Linked DNA regions of Homo sapiens: regions 1, 2, 4, 5, 6 and 7 are each linked to region 3. The links are contacts of gene promoters, found by promoter capture Hi-C in blood cells and fetal thymus (Javierre and others, 2016). All regions are on one chromosome and are shown on one strand. The core of a region is centred on a gene start or on the middle of the fragment in contact, and the rest is flanking DNA. Distances in the headings are between cores, read along the strand shown. Region 1 has its middle 350 kb from the start of RASGEF1B. Region 2 has its middle 300 kb from the start of RASGEF1B. Region 3 holds the start of RASGEF1B (RasGEF domain family member 1B). Region 4 has its middle 390 kb from the start of RASGEF1B. Region 5 has its middle 440 kb from the start of HNRNPD. Region 6 has its middle 330 kb from the start of RASGEF1B. Region 7 has its middle 410 kb from the start of RASGEF1B.

Region 1 (3,144 bases), core at 599-3,098, 350 kb after region 3:
AATGCAGTTTATACAGCATTCTCTGAACTCCCCTGATGCTCATCTGCCAGGATAAAGTATCAGATAATAGTGAGATGTAAATATATGGAACCAGAGCTTCTCTATAACAAAATACTGTCAAATAATGGAGTTTCCCACATCCTTAAAGTAAACCATTCACATTTCCATCTCTAAAGAAAGAGAGCCATAATATTCCATCAGAACATCCTCACTGATATCGCAGCTTTTCATTCGAATATCACCAACTCTGAAGCCTTTATTACTCTGACAGTATGCTGGAATTCTTGGATGCTGACTTACCTTTTTGCAGTCAGATAAGGACTTCTCACTGGCCAATGTGCTGAAAATGGTGGTCTACAAAATAGGAAGATGGAAAACACTTTAGAATTGTTAACATATAATGATAGTGACCATTCCATGTTCATTTCCAATCCAAGGTAGGCACTACCTAACTGTGTCCCCTACTGATTTCTGTGAATTTTAAAATGTGTCTGCCTTCACTATTCCCAAAGCTTCTCTACCCAAGCTGGAACGTTCATTATGGGCCAAGAACCATTCAGTGAGGTAAGGATTCTGTTATCTTCATTTTACAAACAAGGTAACGAACGCACAATTAGGTTAATTGCTATATACCTTGGACATAGTTAGGTCAGGAAGCAAAGCCATCTAACTCCAGAACCCACCTCCAAACACATATGATCTTCTGTCTTAAAGAGATATGTGCATAATGTTAGAGTCAGCTATGCCCAATCTTTCAAATGACAGCTGTTATGAGCCCAAGTGGGAGAATGGAGCTTCTGCCTATGTAAGAGATTTGTGAGTCTGAACAATACCAGGGCTTGCTATCTCCTTTCTACTATCTTTAATGCACTCACTCTCCCTGTAGTTGACCTCTCACACATTTGTATGTATACTTGCTTGGCCTGATGAACCACTCAAAAGGCACTGCAACATTCAAGGCTATATTGGGATTTACATGCAAGTATGTTCCCTTTGGACAATCCTATGAATAAATACATAGCCATGGTCAGCCATACAAACAGTATTGAGATTTTTTTCAGTAAACTTTTTTACATTTTCTTTAATTATAAAACTAATATTTATTCTTAATGAGTTAGTCTCTTTTATACCCTATCCTCCTGAGGTAACCCATAATACAAATTTGTATTCATCTTTCCACACTTTCTCTATTCCCACGCAAATATGTCTGCGCATATTATATAGAAGTCTCGTTCTTATGATCATACCATCTTAATTAAGAATATATTATCAACATCTTTCCAGTTCAGCCCATGCAGATTAATTCATTCTTCTTAATACCTATATAACATGTCATAATATGAATATATCATAATTTTATGCTTTCCTTTATTGATCAACAGGTTTTGGTTCTTTCATTGTTGTTGCTTCTTGTTTTCTTTTGTTTGCTATTACAAAGTATGCTGCAATAAACATGCTTGTATATGGCTGGAAAATCTAGTGTATATAAACTGTCTCCTACTCTCTGCTCTTTTAACATCATAAAAATATTTACCACCTCACCTAAGGTTTTGGTTTGCTTTGCTTTCTGTTTGTTTGTTTGTCTGTTTTGCAATAAGCATGTGAGAAAGCTAAGGATCTAAGTCAGCACATATTCTGGGTCAAAACAACATGCAGTATTAAAGGACAGAAAAGACAGAATGTGAATACACATACAAAAGTGCATCTTTAATTTAAAAAATTAAGTTCAAGGTTTAGGTTAGATATAATCTCCAAGTTTGGTTTGCTGGCCATTTTTATTTCATTTGAGAGGGAAGGAATAAATGTTACTGGGAAAGTTTGAATTAAAAAGGGAAAACTGAAAGAAGGGAAGAATTCTGGTGGCAGAAGAAAAGAGGAAAGGCAAAAGACAAAAAGAAGGACAAAATGAAAAGTTCACAAAAAACAGGCACAAAAAGCAGAATTGTCAAAAAATTAAAAAAGAAGAAAATGGTTTCCATAGAGAAGCAGTCATCTTCACTCAAGGAGAATAAGGGCACATGATGCATTCTAGTTACCAGGATCTATCCTGTTGACCTAATTTCAGCCCTGAAACACAGTAGCAGGTGGTGAAAGGACAGGTATAGCCCTGCAAATTTCATGTCCTCTTGCTCTTTGTGCTGCCAGGTATATCTTAGTTTCTCTCATTTCTGTATTACAATGGGGATGTAAGAAATAGTATTCTTGCTGTCTGTTCAAAGATTAGGGCAGGACAGAGAGAAAAGCCAAAGAACCAGGCAGCATTCCACATGCTACCGTGAACTACCCCACCCACAATCTTCCCATCAGATGTTTTCCTCATGACTTGTCATCATCTTTACTCATTTGTACACATGAGCACTGTGCCATGAGAGAGGCCTCAGTGTTGATTCCCAGATTTCTGCTCCAAGAATGTAAAGACCCACTGAAACTTGGTCATTGCAGTAGTCCCATTACTAGCCCAGTGCTTGGCACAAAGAAGATAACCAATAAATATGAACTGAGTAGATGCAAAAGAAAATAACATCTGGCAAAACTGCAGTCCTTATCCCAAAACATTTCTTTGGAAGCACTGTGCTGGAAAAGCAGCCTCACAGGAAACACTATTATAAAGTGAAGCTCAGGGATATAAGAAAGAAGAGAGATAAAAGACTTCTAAATAATGGTAAAATACACCTTATATTTAGCGTAAAGCTGTTGTCTATTATCTGCTTGGTTTGGCTAAACCAGGCTTTTTCAGTGAAGACCCTGTAAATGTTTTTGGACTAGATAACTCTTTGTTTTGAGGGCACGTGGGGACACACTGTGCACTGTAGGGGGTTCTGTAGCATGTGTGGCCTCTACCCACCAGATGCTACTGACAATCTCCACCTACCTCAGTCATGACAAACAAAAATGTCTCCAGACATTGCTAAATGTTCTCTAGCGGGAAAAACTGCCCACATTTGAGAAAACTGGTCTAAACCCTAAAGGGGCTAGTTATAGAAATGATCCTGATTCCCTGGCTGATGCAACTAAAATTTTTTCCAGGAAATGCAAGTCTAGCGGTGAAAATTTCTCTGCTCAACCCTGAATTCAAGTTTCATTCTCCGTCTGAAATGGGACTCAGAACATAGGGAGGACCCACTCTCCAGCTACTGAAGAGTC
Region 2 (3,061 bases), core at 541-3,040, 300 kb after region 3:
CGATTATCCCTAACACAAAAGAACAGCTTTCCTAAATAAAATATACTATTATGTTCAAGTAAAGAAACATTCTCTGAGGTGAAAAGAAACAACCCTAAAGAGGCTCCTGACTTGAAAGCAGGAAGAATCATCCTTAGTGGGGCTCTGGCCCTTCCAAAGCAGTGTTGGCTTATAAATAAAATAATCGTGATTAATAATACATTGCATTTCCTCATGAAATAGGATAAAAGGCCTCTTGTTGTCTTTTAAAAAAAACCACGAGAAGGAAAATAGGACAACATTAACCACTGATAGTAAGTTGCCCTGAGAAACATCCCGAAAGTATGGTACAAAATGACAAGAAAATGGGATTCAATAACCAGAGGTTCTTAAGCTATATTTTCTCCCTGTCTTTAAGAGCATAGTCAGGGATGTGACAAAATAAAATTCATTCCCTTTCCTCACAGATATGAAAAGATATCTTATTTGTAGCTATTATAGAAAAGGCACCAAGATAACGAACAGAAAAACCAATTTCTCCTGAGGCTATGGGCAAGCTAGTGGAATCCCAACAGATTCAGCAATAATGTCAATAACAACAACAAAAAGCCCAGGTCTTTCTCCTAGGCTGTCATTTTTCCATCAAAATTAACAGCATGGTTATCAAATTTTAAACTTTTTAAATGGAAGCAACTCTGATCTCATTAGGTCTGTACTTCCTCTCAAGAGTCCATATCCCCTAGTAGGACATAAGCTCACTGATGATACTTTGATTCCTTTTTATGGAAACCTCGTCCGCCTGAAATCCAGCCCATCTGTGGCTTTTTTGAGGAACCTTCTCACAATGGCTGTACTAGTTTACATTCCCACCAACCGTGTGTAAGAGCTGCCTCGTCTCCCCATCCTTGCCAGAACTTGTTAATTTTTGTTTTTTTGATAATAGCCATCCTCAGCTGGAGTCAGATAATAACTCACTGTGGTTTTCATTTGCATTTCCCTGATGATTAGTGGATATTGATAATTTTTTTCATACATTTGTTGGCCATTTGTATGTCTTCTTTTGAGAAGTGTCTGTTCAGATCATTTTCCCATTTTTTAATCAAGCTGTTTGGGTTTTTGCTGTTGAGATGTTTGAGTTCCTAGTATATCCTGGATATTAATCCCCTGTTGGATGAATAGTTTACAAATATTTTCTCCCATTCCATAGGTTGCCTTTTCACTCCATTGATTATTTACTTTGCTGTACAGAAGCTTTCCCATTACTGAGCGTTTCTCTAAAGAAAAGGAAGAAATCGGTACATCAAAGAGATATCTGCACCCCCATGTTTACTGCAATACTATTCACAATAGCCAACATATGGAATCAACCTAGCTGTCCAAGAATAGATAAATGATAAAGAAAATGTAGTATACATATACCGGGAAATACTATTCATCCATTAAAAAGAGTGAAATGCTGTCATTTGTAGCAACATGGATAGAAGTGGCAGACATTTTGCTAAGTGAAACAAACCAAGAACAGAAAGTTAAACACCACATGCTCTCATTCATATGTAAAAGCTAAAAAAGGTTGATCACATAGAAGTAAAAAGAACAGAGGATACTAGAGTCTGGGAAGGGTAGGGAGAGGGTGAGGATGGGTAGAGATTTGTTAAAGGATACAAAACTACAGCCAGATAGGAGGAATAAGTTCTAGTGTTTTATAGCACTGTGAGATGACTACAGTTAACACTAACATATTATATAGTTTCAAATAGCTAGAAGCAGATACTGAATGTTCCCAAAACAAAGAAATAATACATGTGCCAGGTGATGAAATCCAGGGTAATATGCTAATTACCCTGGTGGATCACTATTCATTATAGGTATTGAAGCATGACTATTTACCCCATAAAATTTTTTGTGTCAATTTAAAAATAAAAATTAAAATCCCATCAATTGGAAACAAGAAATATTTGTTGGACAAATGTGAAAGAAATGAACAAAGGCAAAAGAGAGCTAGTTGGGTTAAGGGGGTTGCTGATATCAAAACTTAAACTTGTGTGTCAAACTTTCAAATAAAAATTAACAAAATAAATCTATATGAGGATGTATATACATATGCATACATATTTTTTTCTGCCTCACCACTTTCCCAAAACTGTATGAGGCACAGCAAAAGTAAGGAAAAATAAATTACTAAAATAAGATTTTTAATTGGAAAGAAAAGGAAAAAGTAAATATCCAAAATATAACAATGAGTCAGGTGGTTGTGATTGAGTGAAAAGACCAACTACAATCTTCCTGACAAACCAGACTAAGGAAAATGTGATAAGTTGTGTAAGACATTTTGATATGAGAAGAGGAAATCCACTACTTTCCCAAGGGAGATAAAGCTTTTCCTAGAACCAAGCTCTGATAAAAATTTCCAATGCAAGGAAGGAGCAGGGATCACTCAATGACATAATGACAACATGTTTACAATTTCAGAGCAAGTACAGAAACAACTGAAAAGAGATACCTGGTGAGGTTTAAGCAAAACTTAAAGTAGTCACCTTACATACCACAAAAATTTTCTACAATCAATTATTCCAGACAGGTTCACATAGCTTGTTCCACAAATAAGTACATAGAATCAGAAGTTGATAAAGAAGACAACACCACAATCTTACATAGATTTTCACAGGGTTTTTTCCTATGACATAAAAAGTATAATAATGGCCAAAATAACAATTTAAACAAATGTAAATTTATGAGAATTTACTACATACCTGGTTCTTACATAAGTCCTTTACAAATATTACTCATTAGCATTTGCAACAATACTATCTAAGCACTATCATCTGTTGTTTACTGAGAAAGAAACAGAATCAGAAAGGTAAAGAAACTTTGTCCAAGAAACTTGTCACATAGCAAAGTCAGAATTAAATCATAGGATTCTCTGACTTTTAAGTAGTATAATCTTTTTTTATTTTATTTTAAGTTCTGGGATACATGTGCAGAACATGGAGGTTTGTTACATAGGTATACATGTGCCATGGTGGTTTGCTGCTCCTATCAACCCGTCATCTAGGTTTTAAGCCCTGTATGTGTTAGCTATTTG
Region 3 (3,018 bases), core at 142-2,641:
TGCACCCAGTTCAGAGACCCTCCCTTCGGCCATTAGACCATCTGAGCTAAATATAGATCTACACACACCAGCAGTTCCTGACCGTCGTCACATGGTGCTGACGAAGGACTCCTTGGAGACGCGTTCGGCCCAAACACATACACAAATTTGTGTGCATATTCATCTATATACACCATATCCACCGAATTCATCAGGGAGGATGGACACATCTACATTCCGAAGAGAAAATCGCCGTCTAGACAATCTCCTTGTGTTATCTGCCACACTTGTGCCACCCTCGGCAGTGTCAGAGGATTAAGCTACGTTGCTTTTGCCTGAACTGCGCCGATTTGGTTGGGGCAAGACAGCAAGCAGTATTGAAATGGTACGTCCATACACACACACAAAGGCGCGCGCACCCCAGCCCCCGTCTCGCCCTTTTCCCTGGTGCAGCACTTAAGTTGTTTTCACAGCTCCCTTAGAAAGAACCTCCCTTAAGCTGACTGCCCGCGAGGCTCCTAGATACCTCTAGCTCATCTGAGATTCCCCAGGCAGGTGACCCGAGGCGACTCAACTGAGCTCTGGCAAAAGCAAGGCGACTCAGTGTCTCCCAAGTTTGCCAGGTGAACACCGAAGGATGACAGCACATCACCTTGTCGGTGGCGAGTATGTGACTTCTGTTCCCTTGTCCCTTCCTACGAGTCAGACTTTAGATTACATGGCACTGACAACAAAAATAAACAGCTCCCCCTACACACACACGCACACAAAACTGGTCAAGAAGTGGAAGAATCAACCTAGGTATGCACACGAAGGAAAGAAGGGATGAAAAAAATGATGGACGCGATTACAACTCAAGACAAATCCTCAAAAACCACCTATCTCGAGACAGAAGGCCTGGCTGCAGGATCAGGGAGAAAGAGGGAAGGCACAACCCAACCCAACCCAAGCCTGGCCCTGCCCGGGTCCCAGCGGCTCGGCCTCGCACCTGTTGGGGCCGCGGCAGTCCCAGGTACCCGCAGCGGCCGGGCAGGGGCCCTCCCCCGGTCCCGGGCTGTAACTCGGCTCTTGGCGCCCGCGTTCGCGCTCACTCGCCTCGGGATCTCCCGCCGCCTCGGAGCGCACCCGGCAGCCGGTGAAGTCTCTGAGCCCCGCTCGCTCCCCGCGCGGCCCAGGGATCTCCAGGGAGAGCGCAGCGCGCAGTAGGGTCCGGAGTTCCCGCTCCGGGCTGTGGTCCCCCAGCCGGGAGAACAACCCAGCCAGGGAACAACCTACCTGCAGGTGAACTCCGAGTCCTCGGCCTCCCGGCTGCGTGCCGCGCGCCCACAAATGCGACCAAAGGACAGGGAGCTAAAGCGCGCGGGAAGAAGAAAAACAAAATCTGTCTAACCAGTCGGGTTCCTTGTTTATACTGAAACTACGGCAGCCGCCGCCGCGCACGCCCCCCTTGGCTCAGGCGCCTGCCTCCCGCTGCCAGCCCCGCCCCGCCCCGGCAGGCGCGGGCCAATCACCGCGCAGCTCACCGCCCACGCCGCCGCCACCCGGCCCGGCAGGCAAGTCCCAGTGGGCCCCAGACTCCCGCAGCGCGTCAGCCTGGGTGCCCTCCCACGCGGCAGAGGCCCGCGGAGCCCAGCGCAGCGGTGTTTAACAGCGTTGGTCAGGCTGGCTCCGACTGTGCGCGTTTCCTCTTGAGTGCACCTGCCCCGGGCTGTTGTGCAGTCGTGAGTGTGTGTGTGTTCATTCACGTGTATACTATCTGTAAATACCGGCCCGACTCGTTACACAGTATTTATTAACATAATTGTGAGCTAAAGGTTACTGTCCATGTAACTTTCAGAAGAGAGCGGAGAGGAACCACAGAACATTTGCTTAGCAAATAACACATAGATCCTGGTGCTAAGCACTGTGCAAAACGCTGGGGGCACACTTGGCAAAGTAGGCTGGTCTCTGCCATTGTGAAACTTACATAGTCTAGTGGAGGACAGACATTCAGCAAATAATCACCCAAACAAAATGTAGAATTACAGCTGCTAGAAGTTGCACGGAGAGGAACCTGTTCCGTGAAACATGATTCCGGAGGCAAAGCAGGGAGGCTAGTCCTCAGTGAGGGCTGTGTTGTCATGGTAACCACGTACTCACTCCATCATGGGATATTTGATAACTATTTCAGAAAAAAGGTAAAAACCTCCGTACTTCACTTTGTACACATAAAAGGAGGCCAGAGGGAAATAATGATGGAAACAAGGGAAGAAAGAGACCTATGAAAAGAAAAAATTTACAGAATTAGGAGACTCTTACCAACTGTATTTCCTTGAGTAAGTGATACAGCTTTTCTGAGCTTCAGTTTTCTCATATATAAAACAACACTATTCATACCTGTCCTATACTGTTATAATTAAGATTACTGAGGGGGAGGAATCCTTTTCCCTCCTGCTCCATGGGTCCCTCCCCCTCTCCTTCCTGGGGTGGAGTCATTTTGACGCTCACTTTGTCTATTCTTAGCGGATTCCTCTTTCATTTTCTTCATTTATGCCTCCTTTTACTTTTCTTCCTCTTTATGATACTCCTTCCCTCCTTTGTGTAAATAGGACTCCTCTGATTCAGTAATTCACTCTAACCTACTTGAGCCTTTGACTTAACCATAGCTTCTCTGCAGTTTAAATGAGAAGCCATAAGGCCAAGGGAACTTGGTGGGCCAGCCATGCAGAGTGAAACACAGAGGCTGGGTGGCCCTGCCCTGCTGTTGTGGTTGTACTGGTTGGTTGATTTTTCAAGCTCAGTTTTTGCATCCCGATTCTGTAACAAACGAGCCATATGACATTGGGCCAGTCACTTACACCCTTGACATTACTGATCCTGTAGCCAGAAATTAAGAGTTGCAGGGGATTGCTGGCAAGATGGCTGAATAGGAACAGCTCCAGTCTGCAGCTCGTAGCGAGATTCACACAGAAAGCATGTGACTTCTGCATTTCCAACTGAGGTACCCAGTTCATCTCACTGGGACTGGTTGGACAGTGGGTGCAGCCCACGGGGAGTGAG
Region 4 (2,916 bases), core at 381-2,880, 390 kb after region 3:
GATACCAGCTCAGCCACAGTAGAAATAGGCACTAGAATAGGGTAGAGTTCTGTGGCCTCCATTCCAGGCCCTAGCTCTTGGACAATATTTCTAGACACCCTGGCTCAGAAGGGAACCCACTGTCTTGAAGGCAAGGACTCAGTTCTGGCAGAATCCATTATCTGCTGACTAAAAAGCCCTTAAGTTCTAAATAGTCAGCGGTGGTAGGCATGGGACAGTACTCCTTATGGGCCTTGTTGGTAAGACTCAGAGCTGTGCTGGCTTCAGGTGTGTCCCAGCACACTCCCAGCTGTGATGGCTATGGGAGACGTCCCTTCACCTTGAGAAAAGAAGAAGGAAGAATAAAAGGGACTTTGTTTTGCAGCTTGGGAACCAGCTCAGCCACAGAGGAAGAGAGCACCAAGTGGGCTCCTGGGGTCCCTGATTCCAGTCCTTAGCTCCTGGACAGCATTTCTGGACCTGCCCTGGGCTAGAGGGGAACCCACTTCCCTGAAGGGAGAAACTCAGGACTGGTTCTCTGTTGGTTGGGAACAGACATGAGCCATTTTGACTGAATGTGGAGTCTCTGGACTACTGGTAAATTAGCTAGAGATTACCAACACATAGGGATGTCCCCATGCTGATATTCAGCCAGAGAAGCTTGGCACCTAAGAAGGAAAACTGACAAAGCTTTAGCCAGACTAGCAAAAAAAAAAAAAAAAAAAAAGAGAAACAATACAAAAATATAAAATCAGAGATGAAAACAGAAATATTACAACTGAAACCATAGAAATTCAAAGGATCATTAGAAGCTACTATGAGCAACTACATGCCAATAAAGTGGAAAACCTACAAGAAACATGAATTCCTAGACACATACAAACTGCTAAGATTGAACCATGAATAAATCCAAAACCTGAATAGACCAATAACAAGTAATAGACCAATATCAAAGCTGTAATAAAAAGTCTCCCAGCAAAGAAAAGTCTGGGACCCAATGACTTCATGGCTGAATGTTAGCAAACATTTAAAGAACCGACGCCAATCCTACTCAAACTATTCCAGAAAAAATAGAGTAGGAGGGAATACTCCCAAACTCGTTCTACAAGGCTAGTATTACCCTGATTAAAAAAAAAAAAATCAAAAAAAGAAAACTACAGGCCAATATCCCTGCTGAACACTGATGCAAAAAATCCTCGACAAAACACTAGCCAACAGAATTCAGTAACACATTAGAAAGATTATTCACTATGATCAAGTGGGATTTATCCCAAGGATGCAAAGATGGTTCAACATATGCAAATCAATGTGATATATCATATTGACAGAATAAAGGACAAAAACATTCATTTCAATTGATGCTGAAAAAGCATTTGATAAAATTCAACACCGCTTCCTGATAAAAAACCCTCAAAAAACTGAGTATAGAAGGAACGTACTTTAACACAATAAAAGTCATATATTACAGACCCTCTAACTAGTATCATACTGAATGGGGAAAAACTGAAAGCCCTTCCTCTAAGATCTGGAACAAGACAAGGATCCTCACTTGCATCACTGTTATTCCACACAGCTGTGAAAGCCCTGGCTAAAGCAGTCAGACAAGAAAAAGAAATAAAGTGCATTTAAATTGAAAAGGAAGAGGTCAAACTATCCTTCTTTGCAGATGAAAAATATTATATTTTGAAAAAAACTAAAGATTCCACCAAAAACTATTATACCAGGTAAAAAAAAAAAATTAGTAAAATTACAGGATACAAAATCAATGTACAAAAATCCGTAGCATTTCTATATGCCAGCAGCAAATAATCTGAAAAATAAACCAAGAAAGTAATTCCATTTACAATAGCTGTAAGTAAAATAAAATACCTAGGAATAAACTTAAAGAAGTGACAGGTCTCTACAATAAAAACCATAAAACATTGATAAAAGAAATTGAAGAGGACATACCAAATAAAGGGAAAGATATTCCATGTTCATGGATTGGAAGAAACAATATTATTAAAATGTCCATACTACCCAAAGCAATCTACAGATTCAGTGCAATTGCTATCAAAATACCAATGACATTTTTTAAGTAAATAGAAGAACGATCCTAAAATTTATATGAAACCACAAACACTCACAATAATCAAAACTATCCTGAGCAAAAAGAACAAAACTGGAGGAACCACATTACCTGACTTCAAATTATACTACAGAACTACAGTAACAAAACAGCATGGTACTGGGTGGCATAAAAACAGACATGTAGACCAATGAAACAGAATACAGAACCCAGAAATAAATCCATACATTTACAGTTGACTTATTTTGGACAAAGGTGCCAAGAACATACATTGGAAAAAGGACAGTGTCTTTAATAAATGATACAGGGAAAACTGGATATCCATATGTAGAATGAAACTAGACCCAATATCTCTCGCCATATATAAAAATCAAATCAAAATGGATTAAAGATTTAAATCTAAGACCTCAAACTATGAAGCAACTACAAGAAAACATTGGGGAAACTCTCCAGGACATTGGTCTGGGCAAAGATTTCTTGAGTAATACACCATAAGCACAGGCAACCAAAGCACAAATAGACAAATGGAATTATATCAAGTTAAAAAGCTTCTGTACAGCAAAGGAAACAATAAATAAAGAGACAACCCACAGAATGGGAGAGAATATGTGTAAACCATCCATCTGACAAGGGATTAATAACCAGAATATATAAAGAGCTCAAACAACTCCATAGAAAAAAAAATCTAATAATCCAATTTTTTTAATGGACAAAAGACCCGAATAAACATTTCTCAAAAGAAGACACATGAATGGTCAACAGGTACCTGAAAAAATGCTCAACATCATTAATCATCAGACAAATGCAAATCAAAACTACAATTACGTATCATCTCACCCTAGTTAAAATGTCTTTTATCCAAAAGACAG
Region 5 (3,138 bases), core at 95-2,594, 460 kb after region 3:
CCACTCTGTTCTTTACAAGAGGTTCTTTTCCTAAGTCAGAGTAGACCTATTACTTCACAAGAAAGTCTTAGAGACCCAGAAGTAAAATGAATTCCTCTTACTGTGAAGTATATCCCTTCCACACTACCTACTCTGTTATAGAACTTCAAATTGGATTTCTCCAATCATAAGTCTCAGTGTCAAGAGACCTCCACTCCTACTCAAAAGGCAATTTCTGAGAGTCTGATGTATGACTACCACTCCCTCCAAATTCTGTTTGTTAGTCTGTTCCAAAGGCCTAAAAGATGATTCTACTTTTCCTGGATTAAAAATACTTTGACTTGGTTGTAGGGTCATAACTCTCCCTTATCCCCATCTAAGACCTAGGCTCTTAGAGGAATTGTAGCCACTAACCAGAAATTTCCCCAATTGTATATTTAAATGCTCCCTTTTCCCAGATATCCCACTTGGTACTTCTATGACATCACTGTAGACAGGTTATAAGTTTAATGATTCTACTGACTCTGTGAAGTGTTGATGTTCACTTCACTTTTAGGTATCATAGGGGCTGCTTCCACATACAAACACTTAAATGCTTAAACTGGAATTTCACTAACACATGTTGCTGAGTCAGAGACTTGTCTTTAAATACAAGCTCTACCACATTTCTGTTTATATGTCCTTAACTATGCTACATAGGCTTTTGTTTTGTTTTTTGTTTTTGTTTTTGTTTTGAGATGGAGTCTCGCTCTGTCACCCAGGCTGGAGTGCAGTGGCGCAATCTCAGTTCACTGCAACCTCCACCTCCCGGGTTCAAGCAATTCTCTGCCTCAGCCTCCTGAGTAGCTGGGATTACAGGTGCCCACCACCACGCCCAGCTAATTTTTGTATTTTTAGTAGAAACGGGGTTTCACCATCTTGGCCAGGCTGGTCTTGAACTCCTGACCTCATGATCCACCCAACTTGGCCTCCCAAAGTGCTGGGATTGCAGGCATGAACCACCACTCCTGGCTGCTACATAAGCTTTCTAAGCCTTGGTTTCTTTGGCTATGAAATGGGAGTACTAATAATAGCTACTTTAGAGGGTTTCCATAAGGTTAAATGAGAAAATGTCATAAACCACTTAGGACAATTTCTGGCATAATAAAAACAGACAAGAAAGTATAGTGTTACAGTGGTGATAGTAGTGGTGGTGGTGGCAGCAGTGGTTAGCTAAGGTGTAATTTTTCATGTGCCCTCGTGTTGTTTCTTCAACCAGTTCTTGAAGACACAAGGTTCCACAACCATAACTCATCCTAGGTTACCTTCATTTAAGAATACATCAAAATACAGCAAGATGCTCTGATGTGGCTCAGTAGCTTGCTTTATGTGTGCTATGTCCAAAACGACAGAAATGCTGTCCCAAGACATTAGTTTATTTTGTATAATTTAATGTTGCATTGTGAAAACATCTTATACCTTTCTTTGTTCTGTATTTGATTTATCTGTTCCCTCCGCAACTGTCAATTAAATTTTCTAAATTACTATCAATAGGCATATGAAAATCCACACAGCTTTACAGGGCACAGACCCATACAAGCATTTTGCAAGACTCTGGAGTACTTGGGCTGCCACTCCTGCCATGGCCAAACAAAAAGATTTGGGAGAGGTACATGCATCAGGGGCACAGAAACAAGAGAAGTAACCATGAAGGACCTTGCATTAGGTACAAGCTTCACTAGATACACAACTTATCTCCAGTAAGATAAAAAAGAACAAGGTTTTAGATAATTATTTTTGCAGCATATGCAACCGCCTGACACATTTCAAAAAAGCCCTAAATTAACTGGAAGCATAAATGAATTCTCAAGAGAAAAATTATTTCATTTCTAAGAAAGTATTCACTAATTGGACAGGTAGCTGTGGTTTATTAATATGGTGAGTATTTGGAAGCCGTCTCCTTTTCACACAATTTTGACACATTACTTTGGGGGTTTTTGTTTGTTTGCTTGTTTTTGTGGTTTTTTTGGTTTTGGTTTTGGTTTTTTTGTTTGTTTGTTTTTGCTTCATACTTACCTATGACCTCAATACAAGTTTCATTGTGTGATGCTAAACTCTTCCAATGGCACCAAAATGTTACAATGCTACTCGACAATCATATAGATATATTTTCACCAAAAGTAGAGCATTGTGTAACCACTAATGAATTTACTGTATTTATGGAAGAAAAGCCTACTGATTACTACCCACAGTTGAACAGAAACTTCCTACTTTGGTAAACTAATACTTACTTTCAGAATTGTTTCTGACTCATTGTTACTACAGTGGAAAAAGTGAGATTGAGGTGGTCAAACAGTTTCCCCACCATTTTGGGTTCCCTGGCAGGAGACCTGCCCTGCCTCAACCAATGGAAAACATCATGAGTGCCTGAAAGGAGAAAAACTTCTGAGGACAGCCAGAGACCAAGACAGGGAGGTGGGACTAGCATCGCCAGCCCAGAAAATGCTGCTCTGTGTCTGGACCAAATGACACATCACATCAGAGTGGCTGTTCAGCAGCACACTGTAGGGCATTCATTCAACGGATTCTCTGGGTATGAACACCTACCTATCCTTCCCACACTGTAGGGATATCACTTTTGGGACCTCCCCTATCCAGGACAGACAGGGGTCCAAAGTTTGCCAGAGCCAAAGCAAACCTGGGCATAAGGCACCATCAAGTACTTAAAAGGCGGCAGTGACCTGGCAGAAATGATATTAAACAGATATGTTGCAAAGAAATCTCTAAGCAAACATAATGAATAAAAACAAAAACAAGCCATGTAGAGAAGACTGAAATAATTAATCCTTCAATGTAAAGACAAAGATGTACATTCACAAGGAACAATAGCAAATAGGGAAACATGACCTCACCAAAAAGAAAAAGCAAGGAATCAGTGACCAACCCTAATGAGACAATGATAGGTGAGCTCTCTGATAAATAACTTCAAAATAGCAGTTTTAAGAAAACTCAGTGTTCTCCAAAACAGCAAAAAAGGCAACTCAGAAATTTTTTTTTTTAGTTTCTATTTTTTTATTTATTTTATTATTATTATACTTTAAGTTTTAGGGTACATGTGCACAATGTGCAGGTTAGTTACATATGTATACATGTGCCATGCTGGTGTGTTGCACCCATTAA
Region 6 (2,956 bases), core at 42-2,541, 330 kb after region 3:
TGCAGACAGCAATTTTGTCTTACACGTTTTTGTGTTCACAGTGCTTGGCACATGACAGGTGCTCATGAAGTTTAGGTGAATGAGTGCTGCAGAAACAAAATACATGTCCAATTGTTCTGGGAAACAAAGGACAGAAAGCAGTTTGGAGAGTGGTGGAAGTCTCTGCTGCCAAGGTAACATGTGATAGGGGCCTGCTGAAGCACTTCCTGGCAAAGTTGGAGGGAAAGGTAGAAGGAACAACATGTTGGAAGACACAGAGCAGTAAGAGATCTCAGCTAATTCAAGTGGCTTGGCACTACCAGTATTATTGCTCCTCTTTCCCCTTTACTCTAAGCTCCTAAAGCTAGCTAAGCTTTTGGTATTTGTCTACCTTACGGTGGCAAGCTTTTTTGCATAAAAGTATCCTCCCCCACAGGTGATTCAAGAAATTCAACTATTCTCCTTCTTTACCCCTAAAGCACATTTCATGACAGAATATTCTTTCTCAAATAATTTTCAGACTCATTTTTTATATCCTGCTTATCTTTGGCTGTTTCCTATGCCAGATACAGTTCTTTGTTCTGAAATGAAAAATATAGGCCTACAGATAACCTCATTCTCCCTTGCCAAGTCCTAAACCTATCTGTGAATAAATTTCTTTAAATACCACATCTTCTTCCATCTAGATGACCCATTATTTTTCCAATCTCTCTAGAAGCTAGTGTTTTGGTAAACAAAACAGAAGAATAGAAGGTTCTAAAAGTCCTGATCCAATTTCCCTTGATTAGCTCATGCATGCAATAAACGTAAGCAGAGTGTTGACAGCGTGCAAAGGAGGCTCTAGTGGGTTTACAGTTCTTTAGCATGTAAATTTTTGGCAAATGCTTCAAGGTCAGACTTTTAAATACTTTATTAACACAGCTGTGAGCATTTCCACACATTCACCCAATTTTACAGGGGCTGCTCTTCTTTTCCAATGCACATTTTGTATAACATTGTATGGCAGCAACAGGGGTTTTTCCCATTGCCTCATTATTGGAGGACAAATCTTCAGACTGAAAGTGCAAACGATACCCTTATTACTTGGAAGTCCCAAAACTGTATGTACATAGTCCTTTTGTTTATCACACGAACAAATTCCTAACCAACCCTTGCAGCTGCAGTAGCAGCAGGGGTTCAAAACAGTCTGCGTGCTGTTTCACCAGTGTTTTGCACTTTGTATTTTGTACCCTCCTATTTGTGTGCCCTACAGTCTTCAAATTAACCTAAATTACACAATCGTCAGATAAAAATTGTGCATTCACTTATTCATTCAGCAATCATTCATCTAGAGATTGCTTTGTATCCTCATGTGATTATGTTATACCTTGGTTCCCTTCATCCGTTTATTCATCATTCAACAGGCATTCATCAAAAACCTGCTCCGTTCCAGGGTCTGGTCTGAGTATGCTGGGAAGACAGAAATAAGAGTATTGCCATTCCTGCTCTTGAATAGTTAGCAGTATATAGGGTTTATCATAGTGTAATTCGTGAAGAGGGGCACTGCCTCAGCTTCTCTCATTAGAAAGGGATGAAACATCACAACAAATTTTCCCCAATTGGCTCTTTCTGCCCTGTTCTTCCCTTCACAAAACCGTAACAACTTTTTAAATCTTCCCCTCCTGTCCTCCCATAGATCTCACAGAAAGTCTTCTTTCTGCCTCCTCCTTTTTCTCCTCTTCCCCACCCTCACTGGAGGCAACCACATTAGTGCCCCTCCAGCAGATATACAGGTAACCCTCACAAAAAACTGTATATTGAGCCTAAATGCTATTACAATCATTTGCCACATAAGAAAATAGATGCTGAAATTAAGATACTTCCTCCAAACCACACAAGTCCATGATGAAACCAGATCCAAGGTCTTGATCTTGATCTTTTTACTACATCATGGTGACTCAAACATGATTTCCCTTGATCAATCAATATTAGTTTGAGAGAGCATACATAGTTACAAGTAGCTAATTTTCATAGAATCAATCTGATTTCAGTCTTTTTCTCTGGAATTGTCTATTCCTTCACATAAAGTATATATATTTTTAAAATTCTGCTACAAATAGCAATAAAACATTAAGCCAAACTGGCAGGTTTTCCTGACTGGGCCATGAATTTGCCTGGTATTCGCTGATCCCACTAGAAGGGGTTTGCAGACAAAAGGCAATTTTTTAAATGCTGAGGTAGCAAGCTTGGTTTCAAGGATGTTGAATGGGTTGTTCAATAAGTGCACTAGCTTCCTTTTTTATGAATGGAGATCAAGTTAAGAATCTATAAACACTCTGGCTCTCTCAATCCTTTCGATCCAGACATTGTTGAAATGAACATTACAGAGATAAGGAGCAATGAAAACAGAATGAATTTCCTCTACCAGCTGATTGGTGTCTGGAGGAACAAAAAGACCAAAATTTTACTTAATTCACCCTCACACTTTTCTAGAACTGGAAGTCTTGTGAGCACTGACTTTGGATAGGTTATCAGAACATCCTAGCTAGTCAAGATTAGGATTCCCAGGCTCCCTGTTTATGAAACTGGACCACTGACCATCTGAGCATATATATTTAAAAACCAAGACACCTAAAAGCTGTTTTTGGATGAAAGAGAGGGTATAAATTTTGGTGCAAGGGAGTTCAGGAGAAAAGAACAATATGGACAAGGAAGGAGCAGACAAGCATAATGGTGGGGAATGCTATGGCAAATATCTTTCCTCTTAGATTTGAAAACAGGTCTTGAGACCCACTGGGGAGGGTGGTAAGAACAGACACTGACAGCACTGTGTTCACGAAGGAGTTTGTGAAACTCTGAGCACAAGCAGTGCTGGTTTGAGGCCTGAAGGCCCAAGTTCTTGGTAGAGCTGGTGAGCAGCGTGTTCTCCCATTTCATCACTGAAGCACAGCAGCACTTTGCAGGATTACAGAGCACAGCCATGCAGTGGTGGTGCGCA
Region 7 (2,700 bases), core at 54-2,553, 410 kb after region 3:
TTTGTTTTTTTTCTATTTCTCATCACATACACAAAACAATTTTTACTAAATATCTGAAAGAGGGGCCAGGCATTGTGGTTCCTGCCTGTAATCCTAGCTCTTCGGACTGGGAGGCCAAGGCAGGTGGATCACTTGAGCTCAGGAGTTGAAGAGCAGCCTGGGCAACTTGGCAAAACCCTGTCTCTACAAAAAAATACAAAAAAAATTATCCGGGAGTGGGGACATGCAACTGTACTCCCAACTACTCAGGAGGCTAAGGTGGGAGGATCACCTGAGTCTGGAGAAGTCAAGGCTGCAGTGAGCCATGATTGTGCCACTGCACTCCAGCCTGGGTAACATAGTAAGACCCTGTCTCAAAATAAAATAAAGTAAAATAGGTTCATTTAATTTTTTAATCATGCTTTACCGCCCTCTGTGATCAGATTTAAATGTTACCACAGTGATAGCATATTGGGAGGTTCACAAAATTATTGGCATGTTTTCCTTATTAATGCCAAGGTATGCCTCACCTATTGACATCCAGTGAAAGCAACCCTTAACTTCACAAAGACGCCCAGTGCCAGGAGGCATTCCCACCCTCCCCAGCTCTGTCTCCACCTAGTTTCACTTGTCTTCGTCCCTGGCTATGAGCCATCTCCACTTGCATATGTGCCCTGGTTCCTACTCCCCACTCATCAAGTCTGACAAAACTCAGCTGTCTCTTTCTTGGCTTCCTAGCTCAGCCTGCAGGCCTGGTGGGATGCTGTATCATTTTGAGTCCAGTTGTAGATGACAGATACTATGATAGCTAGTTTAAGCAAAACAATATTTTATTGTCAGGTATTAAATGCTTAACACAATCACTAAAGAAAAAGGCATAAACTAAGCTAAGCTTCCAGGAACAGCTTCCATCATCATACATTCTTTCCTGTGATCTAAAAAGCTCCTCTGTCCAATGCTGAAAGTAGAACCATACCTCCTGCACCAGGACAGGAAGAACCCTGGAGCATGCAGGAAGCCAGTGAATCAGGAAGTTAGGACCTCACACCTCCCTTCTTGCTCCTCACTGGTGGTTCAAGTCCCTCACTGGTGGTTCTTAAAGGTGCAGTCACCTTACTCTATGTAGTATTTGACTCATTCTCCTGCCTAAAAGCCTCCCATGGCCCCACGTGTCTGTTGTAAATCCCTCAGGCAATCATATACAGCTTCTTTACAATCTCTATGTACCCTCTTGGCCACAGAACACTTTTCAGATCCACAAGCACCCTCCCCCTGTGTTGTATCTCCTGCCTTTTCATACTCTGTCCCTTGTCTGGAGTGGTCTCTGCTATCTTTCTTCATCCTCCAAACTCCTACTTATTCCTTCAAAAACGACTTTAAATGCCACTCCCACTGTGAAAGTACCTCAAGCTGACATGGTCAATGCTCCCCTTCACTTTCTTGCCTGCTCTTAGAACACTTAATCCATAGCGTTATACTGGGAATTCCAGACTCCAAGTATTTTCTTACACGTATGACTCCTTTATTTTACTGTGAATGGGAATCATGACTTTTAAAAGCATACCTTTTTAAATCCTAACTCTTTGGACTAACTCCACATAAAGCTATACTAAATAAATGATCAGTGTAGCAGCCAGGTTTGTGGCATTTCCAACCAGGAAAAAAAAAATCCAAATTCCTAAATAAATCAAGACAAGCTATTTCTCAGGCACACATTTTTAAAATTCAGTAAACTTTCAGAATATGCAAATGACAATAAAGCTTCACTTCAGCACATTAGAGTGACAGTTACAAGAAAATGACATAAAACTGCTCCCTGAGGAACCATCTCAAGATAGCATTAGATACTCAGGGTTGTCACTATGAAGGGTACCATCTAAGTCATATTTTTTCAGCTTTAATAACAAAGATGGGACAGTTACCAGTATTTTTCATTATCGTCTTTGCCTTCAGAACTTTATTTGGCCTGGCCCTGAAAGCAGTAAAGAATTTGTTTTGAATGTTAAGCACATGACAGCAGAGGGCTACTGGGTTTTAAGCAGATATGTACGAGGATATGGATTTGTAGTCCATGGGGCCCCACCTTCCCCAGGATATCAATGGAGCTGCTCCATCCCTGAATTTTCCTTTGTGAGCAATAGCCCTATCCCAGGTCCTCAACACAGGATGAGCTGCTTGCTCAAGATCCATTCAGTCTCAGAGTCTGTCTCCGATGCTGGGGCCCATCAGAGCTTTTAGAGTCCATGAGAACCCTGAGGCAGGTGGGAGAAGTCAGGGCACTTCCACACAATTAATATTGTTGGAGTTTCCCCAGGCATATAGTATTGTAGGGAAGTGAGACAGTCATGTTACTCTGCATACTTATAGGAACAACTCTGGGTCAAATTAAGGTCCAAGCAAAGTCCATTGCCAGTTCTGCAGGGCAGAAAATCATTCGTCATCGCCAGTAAAAAATTTTCCACTTTCTGGCTTCTGCATGTATTCAGCTAGTCAAGTGTCAGCACAGAGCCCCGAAGTCACATGCTTTGCGGCTTACATTGTGACAACTGCATTTCTAAGCCTATGGTTGCAGGCAAGACAACATTTGTAATTGTCTTGTTGGTTCAGGGTAAAACAAATACACATTTAGATCACAACAGATAAATGCTTCCTCTGAATTAATCACACAAGGGAGGGCAGAAAACACACATCTATCAGGGAAATTGAATCTCATAGTGGCAA

What was found. The method cuts DNA at HindIII sites, captures the fragments that hold promoters and counts their contacts. A CHiCAGO score of 5 or more calls a contact.
Region 1: a fragment that was not itself captured here is called in contact with the fragment with the promoter of RASGEF1B in region 3 in 16 of 17 cell types (total CD4 T cells, naive B cells, naive CD8 T cells and 13 more); the score reaches 20.0 in total CD4 T cells.
Region 2: a fragment that was not itself captured here is called in contact with the fragment with the promoter of RASGEF1B in region 3 in 4 of 17 cell types (monocytes, activated CD4 T cells, total B cells and 1 more); the score reaches 7.1 in monocytes.
Region 4: a fragment that was not itself captured here is called in contact with the fragment with the promoter of RASGEF1B in region 3 in 2 of 17 cell types (total CD8 T cells and naive CD4 T cells); the score reaches 7.3 in total CD8 T cells.
Region 5: a contact is called between a fragment that was not itself captured here and the fragment with the promoter of RASGEF1B in region 3, in 1 of 17 cell types (fetal thymus). The highest score is 5.6, in fetal thymus.
Region 6: a fragment that was not itself captured here is called in contact with the fragment with the promoter of RASGEF1B in region 3 in 3 of 17 cell types (total B cells, naive B cells and activated CD4 T cells); the score reaches 7.2 in total B cells.
Region 7: a fragment that was not itself captured here is called in contact with the fragment with the promoter of RASGEF1B in region 3 in 11 of 17 cell types (total CD8 T cells, fetal thymus, total B cells and 8 more); the score reaches 9.7 in total CD8 T cells.

What each region holds. Positions count from the first base shown.
Region 1 is chr4:81,824,218-81,827,361 of GRCh38, forward strand. No RefSeq gene overlaps it. Among named protein-coding and RNA genes, the nearest start is that of RASGEF1B, 350 kb to the left of the region's middle. The HindIII fragment of the contact is 2,677 bases long and covers 511-3,144 here.
Region 2 is chr4:81,774,648-81,777,708 of GRCh38, forward strand. No RefSeq gene overlaps it. Among named protein-coding and RNA genes, the nearest start is that of RASGEF1B, 300 kb to the left of the region's middle. The HindIII fragment of the contact is 1,124 bases long and covers 1,229-2,352 here.
Region 3 is chr4:81,470,516-81,473,533 of GRCh38, forward strand. RASGEF1B (RasGEF domain family member 1B) reads right to left here and starts at 1,392. Exons shown (of 14, transcript NM_152545.3): 1 at 1,255-1,392. RefSeq lists a silencer at 1,324-1,733. The HindIII fragment of the contact is 14,883 bases long and covers 1-3,018 here.
Region 4 is chr4:81,860,354-81,863,269 of GRCh38, forward strand. No RefSeq gene overlaps it. Among named protein-coding and RNA genes, the nearest start is that of RASGEF1B, 390 kb to the left of the region's middle. The HindIII fragment of the contact is 1,926 bases long and covers 668-2,593 here.
Region 5 is chr4:81,928,710-81,931,847 of GRCh38, forward strand. No RefSeq gene overlaps it. Among named protein-coding and RNA genes, the nearest start is that of HNRNPD, 440 kb to the right of the region's middle. The HindIII fragment of the contact is 689 bases long and covers 1,001-1,689 here.
Region 6 is chr4:81,801,462-81,804,417 of GRCh38, forward strand. No RefSeq gene overlaps it. Among named protein-coding and RNA genes, the nearest start is that of RASGEF1B, 330 kb to the left of the region's middle. The HindIII fragment of the contact is 1,819 bases long and covers 383-2,201 here.
Region 7 is chr4:81,881,417-81,884,116 of GRCh38, forward strand. No RefSeq gene overlaps it. Among named protein-coding and RNA genes, the nearest start is that of RASGEF1B, 410 kb to the left of the region's middle. The HindIII fragment of the contact is 869 bases long and covers 870-1,738 here.